2 separate regions of the Homo sapiens genome follow, and region 2 is linked to region 1. The links are contacts of gene promoters, found by promoter capture Hi-C in blood cells and fetal thymus (Javierre and others, 2016). All regions are on one chromosome and are shown on one strand. Each heading gives the region's core, a stretch centred on a gene start or on the middle of the fragment in contact. The rest is flanking DNA. Distances are from core to core; before and after follow the strand shown. Region 1 holds the start of KBTBD6 (kelch repeat and BTB domain containing 6). Region 2 overlaps MTRF1 (mitochondrial translation release factor 1).

Region 1 (5,513 bases), core at 2,218-4,717:
TTTTTTTTGAACTATCCTTTTTAACTGTATTAATGCCATAGTGGGTGTCAAGGGCCCTCATGGTGCATATGAAAAGAGAATCATTGATATCCCTGGGAGGTTTTCCCCAATTCCCTGTAGTTGCCTCAATTTGGAGGTAATTCCAGAAGGACACACCATTGACAGGTGGGATAGCAGCTTTAAATATTTTGAAGTCCCAGACAATCAGTCCAAATGCCCTTGGGGAAGGCATGAAAAGTGGTATCCTATGGGGAAACAGGTGGGGTCTGAGGTATAGTAATTATTAACAATTACTGGGATTAACAACTGGGTAGATCCCTCAGAAGAGCAGAGTCTTTGTGTGGAACTGAACGCAGTTTGTAAGGCTGGTTGGGAAGTGGTGGAAGAGAAAATGGTTATTATTAGGGATAAAAGTGCTCCTACATTTTTTCCTACACTTGATCCTGAAAAAGTGGAGTCATTGAGTTTGGAGATTTCAAGAGACTCATTAATCATGTTAAGAATTAAGTTTCATTTAGTACATGCTGAGAAATTGGGGATAATAGAAGAGTCAAGGGCCATTAGGCATGAGACTCTGGGCAGGTTGAGTTCCTTAAAGAGTTTGGCTAGTTTGAATATAACGGTACCACTGGCCTGCTTGTTTCATTTTCCAGAGGACTGGTAAGGAGACTGCAGTTTTTGTAACATTGGAAGTACTTGTTGAAGATCCTGAATAACCTTACTACTGAAGTGAGTTCCTCCACTGTTATTAAAAAAAACAGAGATCCCTAGGAGGGGAAAATTCTTTCTGGTATCAGGTTAACTTCAGTGGTGATAGTAGCTTGTTTACAGAGAAAAGCTTTTAACCATGCTGAAAACATGCCAACTATGGTTAAAACATATTTGTACCCATAAGACTTTGAGAGTTGATATATTTTCCAATGAAAACAAGGACTAGAGAGAGTTGACTCTCATGCTTGTCCCACTTTACATGTTGACTAGGATTGTGTTTCTGGCAGATGGGGCAAGTTGAAGTTAACTGCTCAGTATTAGGGCATCCCCAACAATATTTGCGGAGAAAGATTTTCTTTGCCATAATGTGTAATCTCATGGAGGCTGCAGAATAAATTTTGGGTGAGGGACCAAGAGAAATCAATGATGTCTAGGTGTCTCCAAAGCCCATCTGAGTAGAAAAAACATCCAGCTTGTTGCTTTTTTGCTTTTTCAGCCTCAGGTGCTAGCAGCTGTTATATCTTAAGTTTCTTAAGAGTTTCTGTCTTTAGAGTAGGTTGAGCAAGGAGAAGTATACACGTGATTCAGGAGGTGTTTTCTTGGGAAGCAGCAACCTTAGCATATTTTCAGCCAGTTAAGTTTCCTTTAGCTTTGTTAGTCCAGCCACTAGTGTGAGCTTTGATTTTTGAGAATGGCTAATTTCTGGATAGCTGTAAGGACTTAAACAGGGGGGCTGGGCGCGGTGGCTCACGCTTGTAATCCCAGCACTTTGGGAGGCCGAGGCGGGTGGATTACCTGAGGTCAGGATTTTGAGACCAGCCTGGCCAACGTGGCGAAACCCCATCTCAACTAAAAGTAAAAAAAAAAAAAAAAAAATTAGCCGGTCATGGTGGTGGGTGTCTGTAATCCTAGCTACTCAGGAGGCTGAGGCAGGAGAATCGCTTGAACCCGGGAGGCGGAGGTTGCAGTGAGCCAAGACCGCGCCACTGCAACTCCAGCCTGGGTGACAAGAGCGAGACTCCATCTCAAAAAAAAAAAAAAAAGACTTAAATAAGTTAGTGAGTTGGGTTCTGAGTGGTACTCCTCAGTTGTCATAAACCTCTTTCTTTCCATAGCATACCAAAATAACGTGCAATTCCAAAAGTAAACTGGCTGTCTCTATAAATGTTAGTTCCCTTATCTTGTGCTAACATGCAAGTTTGGGTGAGTGCTTAAGAATTCAATGATTTGGGCCATGTTAACTTAAGTGGAGATTTCAACTTAATAGGCTGTTGAAAATCTGCAATAGTGTATCCTGCTTAAAATTCCCCATTTGTACTCCTGAGGTAAGAACCATCTACAAAGGTGATATCAAGGTCTCTGAGAGGAGTTCTGGTGATGTCAGAGTGAGGAAATGTGAATGACTGTGTGACGGTGATTCAGTCACAAGGTTGTCCTTCAGAGGGAATGGGAAGAAGAGTGGCTTGATTGTTTTGACTACGGTGGACAGTGATGAGAGAGGAAGACAGTGGCAGGGTTTCACAGGAGGTGAGTCCGAAGCGGAAACGTGTTAGGTGTTCTCAGTGACTTCTAATGTCTGAACTGCACGGGGTAAGTAAAGGTTGAGTGAATGACTAGAAATAAAGTCAGCTCTGATGGAGAGGCAACTTCATACAAGCAAGGGGAGAAATGCTTGAGCCACTGGGTCTAAAAGGATGCTAAATTACCAACCAGGCCTCTGGCTTCCATTGTGTTTTGGGGTGAGGACCCCCTAAAGCATGTCTCTTCTTTTGTGTAAAAAAGGGAAAGGGGTACTGAATATTGGAGAGACCAAGTGGGAGAAGTGGCTACAGAGGACTTCAGGTTTTGAAATGCAGATATGGAAGGAAAGTCTCAAAGTCAGGTGACTGGAGGTGGTCTCCTTTTAGTCATGGCAAATAAGGACAGGCAATTGTGAAAAAGCCAGGGATCTAATTCCAGCGATAGCCAACCAATCCTACAAACCCTGAGTTATCTTTTGGTACCAGGGAGAGGCATAGTGAGTAAAAAAAAAAAAAAAAAAAAAATCACTTCTAATGGATACATACACTAATACAAGATGTTAATAATAAGGGAACTGTGAAGTGGGGAGAGATATATGGAAGTTCCCTGTCCCTGCTGCTCAATTTTTCCGTAAACCTAAAAATAAAATCTAATTTACACACACACACACACACGCCCCTAAAAAGGGATCTCTGCTGGAACTTGCAAGGTTTTCTGTTTTGGGGGGTTTTTTGTTTTCCTACAGGCTCATAATTTCAAATTAGTGGTGCTTCCTTTTTTTTTTTTTAATAAAGGCTGGAAGAAAACTTATCGAACCTTTATAATTCTAAGAACTGAGTAATTATTCTACAAACCAACAAATATTTATTAACAGCGTCCTATAACCAACTCATGTAATCTTCACACAATCCTATGAAATACTACTGTTCACGTCTTACAAAAGAAGAAACAGTTCAAAGAGACAAGTCAAACAATACATACTAGAACGAGGCGACTACTCTGGATTCCAAAACCACAGTTCCAAACCACAAAATCGAATCTAGGAAAATTGGCGCTCTCGAGTGTCGTCAGCTAAAACAAGGAACACCAGAGAAGGATCGCGATATTACACAAACTACTACTCCCGACATGCAAAGCGGATTCTTTCCCTCGGTCTCGGCCCGGGAGTCCGAGAGTCCCAGCAGCCCTCGGGGCGCGAAAGGCAACCTGGGAGCGGTAGTTCTCCTGGGCGCCTAGCATTGTCGCCCACGCTGCAGTAGCGGCTTCTGCGGCTCCAAGCCAGCGGGTCCTGTGAAGGCGAGCAGACGCGGAGAAAGGACGCGGGAGTGAGAGAGGGTGAGTCAGCCACTGTCTAAACGATAACGGGAGGCGGTTCTGCGGGGTAGGGTTGAATTCAGTAAATGGGCTCGTGCTGCTGTCTCTTCGGAGACGCTGCTATCTTAGCGTCAGCGAGGGAAGGTTGAGGAGGAGCCAGAGCCGGGTCCTGCAGCGTTTCTCGCCATCAGCGCCCGTCGCCATCTCCACCATGCAGTCCCGGGAAGACGCCCCGCGCTCTCGCCGCCTAGCCAGTCCCCGTGGTGGGAAGCGGCCCAAGAAGATTCACAAACCCACAGTTTCGGCCTTTTTCACGGGTCCAGAGGAATTAAAGGACACGGCCCATTCTGCAGCCCTGCTGGCACAGCTCAAGTCCTTCTACGATGCGCGGCTGCTGTGTGATGTGACCATCGAGGTGGTGACGCCTGGCAGCGGGCCTGGCACGGGTCGCCTGTTCCCCTGCAACCGCAATGTGCTGGCCGCGGCATGTCCCTACTTCAAGAGCATGTTCACAGGTGGCATGTACGAGAGCCAGCAGGCCAGCGTGACCATGCACGATGTGGACGCCGAGTCCTTCGAGGTGTTGGTCGACTACTGCTACACGGGTCGTGTGTCTCTCAGTGAGGCCAACGTGGAGCGCCTGTACGCGGCCTCCGACATGCTACAGCTGGAATATGTGCGGGAAGCCTGTGCCTCCTTCTTAGCCCGACGTCTTGACCTGACCAACTGCACCGCCATCCTCAAGTTTGCAGATGCCTTTGGCCATCGCAAGCTGCGATCCCAGGCCCAGTCCTATATAGCTCAGAACTTCAAGCAACTCAGCCACATGGGTTCAATTCGGGAGGAGACTCTAGCAGATCTGACCCTGGCCCAGCTGCTGGCTGTCCTGCGCTTGGATAGTCTGGACGTGGAGAGTGAGCAGACAGTGTGCCATGTGGCAGTGCAGTGGCTGGAGGCTGCTCCCAAAGAGCGGGGTCCCAGTGCTGCAGAAGTCTTCAAGTGCGTGCGCTGGATGCACTTCACTGAAGAAGATCAGGACTACTTAGAAGGGCTGCTGACCAAGCCCATCGTGAAGAAGTACTGCCTGGACGTTATTGAAGGGGCCCTGCAGATGCGCTATGGTGACCTGTTGTACAAGTCTCTGGTGCCAGTGCCAAACAGCAGCAGCAGCAGTAGCAGCAGCAACTCTCTTGTATCTGCAGCAGAAAATCCACCCCAGAGACTGGGTATGTGTGCCAAGGAGATGGTGATCTTCTTTGGACACCCCAGAGATCCCTTTCTCTGCTGTGATCCATACTCGGGGGACCTTTACAAAGTGCCGTCACCTTTGACCTGTCTGGCTCACACTAGGACTGTCACCACTTTAGCTGTCTGTATCTCTCCTGACCATGACATCTATCTAGCTGCTCAGCCCAGGACAGACCTCTGGGTGTATAAACCAGCTCAGAATAGTTGGCAGCAACTTGCAGATCGCTTGCTGTGTCGTGAGGGCATGGATGTGGCATATCTCAATGGCTATATCTACATTTTGGGGGGGCGAGACCCTATTACTGGAGTTAAGTTGAAGGAAGTGGAATGCTACAATGTTAAGAGAAACCAGTGGGCATTGGTGGCTCCACTGCCCCATTCTTTTTTATCCTTTGACCTAATGGTAATTCGAGACTATCTCTATGCTCTCAACAGTAAGCGCATGTTCTGTTATGATCCTAGCCACAATATGTGGCTGAAGTGCGTTTCTCTGAAGCGCAATGACTTTCAGGAAGCCTGCGTCTTCAATGAGGAGATCTATTGTATCTGTGATATCCCAGTCATGAAGGTCTACAACCCAGTTAGGGCAGAATGGAGGCAAATGAATAATATTCCCTTGGTCTCAGAGACCAACAACTACAGAATTATCAAGCATGGCCAAAAATTGTTGCTCATCACCTCTCGCACCCCACAGTGGAAAAAGAACCGGGTGACTGTGT
Region 2 (5,513 bases), core at 1,857-4,356, 83 kb before region 1:
GGGTCAGCTGGGCACAGTGGCTCACACCTGTAATCCCAGCACTTTGAGAGGCAGAGGTGGGAGGATCGCTTGAGCTCAGGAGACCATCCTGGGCAGCATGGCAAAATCCTATCTCTACAAAAAAAAAAAAAAAAAAAAAAAAAAAAATTAGCTGGGTGTGTAGCATGTGCCTGTAGTCCCAGCTACTCGGGAAGCTAAGGTGGGAGGATTGCTTGAGCCCAGGAGGCAGAGGTTGCAGTGAGCCGAGATCACACCACTATACTCCAGCCTGGGCGACAGAGCAAGAGCCAGTCTCAAAAAAAAAGATTAGTCAATCAGCACAATATAGACTATACCTAGATTCAACAGTTGTTAATATTTTACTGTATTTTCCTTCTCTTTCCCCCCACCATTTCCTCTGTCTCTCTATAAACCTGTGTTGCTCTTGAACCATTTGAAAGCAAATTGCAGACCTCAAAGACACTTCACCCCTAAATATTTCAACAAAAATATTTTTCAGTTACACAGGACTTCTAGATCATCATGTTTTCGGTTTAAAAATAAAAAACTATCATAAACCACTTACAGATGAAATAATCTAAACTTTGAGGATTAGCAGAAGGGTGAGCTTGAATGGTCGGGGGAGGCTTCCTCTCAGTCAGATCCAGAGGAGTTGGCAAGGAGCAGTATGTGCATTAATGCACAAAATGCTTGTGGAACAAATTGCTTGTGGAATTGAGACCTTTCAGTCTTTTTCCTCTGGGAAATAACATAATGTGAGTGAAAAGGGTAGAATTTTCAGGACAAGAATAAAAGCATTTTTTTTTTAGGGTACAATAAGAGAAAATCCAGCAAACCCGTTCTCCTAAAGATGGTTTGAGAGCCTAGAATGGTGTTGTCATAAAAGCCAATCAGTGGAATTTTAAAGGGAGGGAGGTGGTCAGTTTCAAAAGTCCATCTAGATCTCTTTGTTTTGTTGTCTCTGGAGTTGTTAGGAAAATCCAAATCTCAGAAGATTTATTTTAAAATAAAATGCTAACTGAATTCTTCTACAGAGTGGGGATCTTCCCAAGTTAGCGATTGTGTTCATTGTATTACAGAACATTAGTAATCCTTTATTGTTATTAAATAATGACTGCAAAGAAATTAAATAAATAAACACTAAAGTCTTTGCTTATATTTCTAATCATTAGGTTTCATAATAGCTCTCTCTTTTACCAGGAATTTTTATGTGGTGGGAAGGGCCTGGATCAGCTAATTCAGAGACTGCTTCAATCAGCAGATGAAGAAGCCATTGCTGAACTTTTGGATGAACACCTTAAATCAGCAAAATAAATACTAACTTATTATTATTTATGATTATATAAATGAAATGGACCTATATCAAGAGGCAGACTGAAGCTTGGAAATCATTATGAATATTTGTAAATTACAGCTTTAAGAACACATTACACATAAATATATGTTTTGTAATTAATCGAAGTCACATTTCCTGACCTAAGAATTTATTTTAGGTTTCCTGTAAAGTACAATCCAACTCATCAAGTAGAAAATAAGCATGCATCATTGAAAAGAGAAAGTATTGAGAATTGATTGTGTCATTTAGGACAAGTCACTTGTTCTCTTTATATGCCTTTTTTCCCCAGCCATCTATGAATTAATTTAAATATATTTTTAATCTACTACTTCAGGAAAATATGGTAAAATTTAGTAAAATATGAATTTTAGACTTCCTTATAAACCTTTTATTTAAATACAAAGTACCTTGGCCTATAGTGGATGCTTATGCCTGTAATCCCAGTGCTTTGAAGGGCCAAAGGGGGAAGATCTCTTGAGGTAAGAATTTGAGACCAGCCTGGGCAAAATAGACCCCATGTCTACAAAAAAACTCAAAACATAAAGAAAAACCATAATACTGTTAATCATGTTAAAGTTAAGACTTAGACTGCAACTTTTAAATAAAAATTATGAAGAATATGAGTCATTCAATAACAATGAGCATCTGGGTACAGACAGTAAAGCCCTTTGATTGCTGTATGAATTCCACACTATATAAACAATAAGCTGATATTTTAAATAGACTCTTTGTTTGACTTCTATTTCTTTTTTTTTTTTTTTTTTTTTTACTCCTGGCAAGCTGGAGTAAAAAAGTTATTGTTTGCTGGCTTAACTTAATGAGCATCAATAGATGTGTAATATGAGTAATACACTGAGATCAGTTTTGTGCAGCATTATATAAAACCCAGTCCTTACCTTAAAGAGCTTGCAGTTGACTGAAGGATTTAAACATGTAAATCACCAAGTAATACAGAGTGGCATGATGTATTTAGTAATTGTTCCGAAGACGTTTCAAGTTAAAAAGAGAGGAATGGCTGGGCACAATGGCTCATGCCTGTAATCCCAGCACTTTGGGAGGCCGAGGCGGGCAGATCACTGAGGTCAGGAGTTCAAGACCAGCCTGGTCAACATGGTGAAGCCCCATCTCTACGAAAATACAAAAACTAGCCGGGCATGATGGTGGATGCCTGCAATCCCAGCTACTCAGGAGGCTGAAGCAGGAGAATCGCTTGAACCCAGGAGGCGGAGGTTACAGTGAGCTGAAATCGCGCCACTGCCCTCCAGCCTGGGTGACAGACCAAGACTCCATCTCAAAAAATTAAAAAAAAAAAAAAAAAAAGAAAGGATTATTATTTTAGTTACTCCTCAGAGAAGAGTTTATGTGCCAAGAAAGACTAGTTAAGAGTTTTAAGGCCAATGGAATTGTTTGTATGTAAACATTAAAGAGGAATGTTTTCCCTAATTTTTATTTTGAAAATATTCAAGCATAATGAAAAAGTCTAAAATAAATTATTTATTTATTTATTTTTGAGATAGAGTCTCGCTCTGTCACCCAGGCTGGAGGGCAGTGGCGTGATCTCGGCTCACTGCAACCTCTGCCTCCTGGGTTTAAGAAATTCTCTGCCTCAGCCTCCCAAATAGCTGGGATTACAGGTGTGTGCCACCACGCCCAGTTAATTTTCTTGTATTTTTAGTAGAGATGAGGTTTCACCATCTTGGCCAGGCTGGTCTTGAACTCTTGACCTCATGATCCACCCACCTCAGCCTCCCAAAGTGCTGGGATTACAGGTGTGAGCCACTGCGCCCAGCCAAATTATTTTTTTAGAGACAAGGTGTCACTCTTGCCCAGGCTGGAGTGCAGTGGCATGATCATAGCTCACTGTAACCTTGAACTCCTGAGCTCAAGCAATCCTCCCACCTTAGCCTCCCAAGTAGCTGGGACTACAGGCATGCATCACCATACCCAGATAATTTTTTTATTGTTGTAGAGATGGGGTCTTGCTATGTTACGCAGGCTGGTCTTGAACTCCTGGCCTTAAGTGATCATCCTGCCTCAGCCTTTCAAAGTGCTGGGATTACACATGTGAGCCTTTGTGCCCAGCCACAATAATTTTTAAGAAATAGTTCAATCAGGAGAGGTCTGAGCAAGATGGCTGAATGTAGAAACCTTTACCAATTGTCCCCCAATGCAGCAACACTGATTTAACAACTATTTACACATACAAAAAGCACCTTCATGAGAACCAAAAATCAGGTTAGCAATCACAGTACCTGATTTTAACTTCATATCACTGCAAGAAGGTAGGAAAGATAGTTTTGAATTGGTAACGCTGCTCCTTCCCCGTTCCCCTAGCAGCAGCAGGTGCTGTGCCCTTGAGAGAGGGAAAGCACAGCAATTTTGGGACCCTGTGTTGAACTCAGTGCTGCCTGGTCACAGCAGAAAGCAAAACTGAGTTAAACTCAGCAGATGCCCATCCACAGAGGGAGCATCTAGACCAGCCCTAGCCAGAGGGGAATTGCCCATCCCAGCGGTCAGAACCTGAGTTTCAGCAAGCCTCAACACTGTGGGCTAAAGTGTTCTAAGGTCCTAAATAAACTTGAAAGGCAGTCTAGGCCACAAGGACTGTAGTTGCTAGGTAAATCCTTGTTCTGTGCTGAGTGCAGAGCCAGTGGACATGGGACACCAGTTGGGTGGCTAAGGAAGGGCTTGTGCCACCCCTCCCCCAACCCCAGGCAGTGCAGCTCACAGCAATAAAAGTGACTCCCTTCTGCTTGAGGAGAGGAGAGGGAAGAGTAAGGACTTTGTCTTGCATCTTGGATACCAGCTCAACCACAATAGGACAGGGCACCTGACAGAATTGTGAGGCCCCCATCCTAGGCCCTAGCTCCCAGACAACATTTCTAGACACACCCTGGGCCAGAAGGGAACCCTCTGCCTTGAAGGGAAGTACTCAGTCTTGCAGGTTTCATCACCTGCTGACTAAAGAGCCCATGGGCCCTGAGTAACCAACAGCGATGCACAGGCAGTATGCTGTGGACCTTGAGTGAGACTCGGACATGCCAGCCTCAGGTATCAGCTTGGCCATGGTGTAGAGCACCAACGGGCTCTTGGGGTCCCCAGGTCCAGGCTCTTGGATAGCATTTCTGGACCTGCACTGTGCCAGAGGGGATTTCACTACCCTGAGGGGTGAGTTCCAGGCCTGGCAACATTTGTCACAGCTGACTGAAGAGCCCTTGGGCCTTAAGTGAACACTAGTGGTGGTCTGACAGAATTCGCCATGGGTCAGTGGTGGCAGAGGCCATAGGGAGAGGCCCCTCTGCTTGTGGAAAGGGGAGGGAAGAGTGTGAAGGATTTTGTCTTGTGGTTTGGGTGCCAGCCTAGTCACAGTAGAATAAGACACAAGGTAGACTTCTTGTAAGGTTTTTACTGCAATCCCTGGCTCCCAGACAGCATCTCTGGACCTGCCTGGGGCCTGGGAGAACTCACCATCCTGAAGAGACGGACACAAGCTTGGCTGGCTTCACCACCTGCTTATTGTAGAGCCTTACGGCCTGTGCAAACATAGGCAGTAGCCAGGTGGTGGTTACAATGGGCTTTGGGCAAGACCCAGTACTATGCTGGTTTCAGGTCTGCCTCAGGGCAATTACACTGGTGGTGGCCACATGGGTGTTTGCATCACCTCACCCCCAGTTCCAGGCGGCTCAGCACAGAGAGACTCTGTTTGGGAGAAAATAAGGAAGAAAACAAGAGTTTCTGCCTGGTAATCCAGAGAATTCTTCATAATCTTATCCAAGACCACCAAGGTGGGACTTCTATGAGTCTGCAAGAACCATAGCATTACTGAGCTTGGGGCCCTAGTCCCTCTGTATACCAGGAAAGCCTTCTCAAGAAGGGCAGGCACAGATTGCAAAGCCCAGATTGCAAAGACTATAATAAATTCCTAACTCTTTATTGCCCAGACAAACATCTACAAGCATCAGCACCAGCCAGGAAAACATGATCTCACCAAATGAACTAAATAAGGCACCAAGGACCAATCCCAAAGAAAAAGAGATGTGACCTTTGAGACAGAGAATTCAAAATAGCTGTTTTGAGGAAACTCAAAGAAATTTGAGATGACACAGAGAAGGATTTCAGAATTCCATGAGGTAAACTTAACAAAGAGATTGAAATAATTAAAAAGAATCAAGCAGAA

Evidence for each region. The method cuts DNA at HindIII sites, captures the fragments that hold promoters and counts their contacts. A CHiCAGO score of 5 or more calls a contact.
Region 2: a contact is called between a fragment that was not itself captured here and the fragment with the promoter of KBTBD6 in region 1, in 1 of 17 cell types (neutrophils). The highest score is 6.2, in neutrophils.

Annotation. Positions count from the first base shown.
Region 1 is chr13:41,130,756-41,136,268 of GRCh38, reverse strand. KBTBD6 (kelch repeat and BTB domain containing 6) reads left to right here and starts at 3,467. Exons shown (of 1, transcript NM_152903.5): 1 at 3,467-5,513. The coding sequence starts at 3,758. It overlaps KBTBD6-DT (KBTBD6 divergent transcript), which reads right to left and starts at 3,341. Exons shown (of 4, transcript NR_120423.1): 1 at 3,214-3,341. RefSeq lists enhancers at 3,165-3,404, 3,765-3,814. The HindIII fragment of the contact is 7,724 bases long and covers 841-5,513 here.
Region 2 is chr13:41,212,916-41,218,428 of GRCh38, reverse strand. It overlaps MTRF1 (mitochondrial translation release factor 1), which reads left to right. Exons shown (of 10, transcript NM_004294.4): 10 at 1,201-2,060. The coding sequence ends at 1,314. All of the region lies in intron 3 of KBTBD6-DT (KBTBD6 divergent transcript), which reads right to left. Among named protein-coding and RNA genes, the nearest start is that of KBTBD7, 21 kb to the right of the region's middle. The HindIII fragment of the contact is 3,447 bases long and covers 1,383-4,829 here.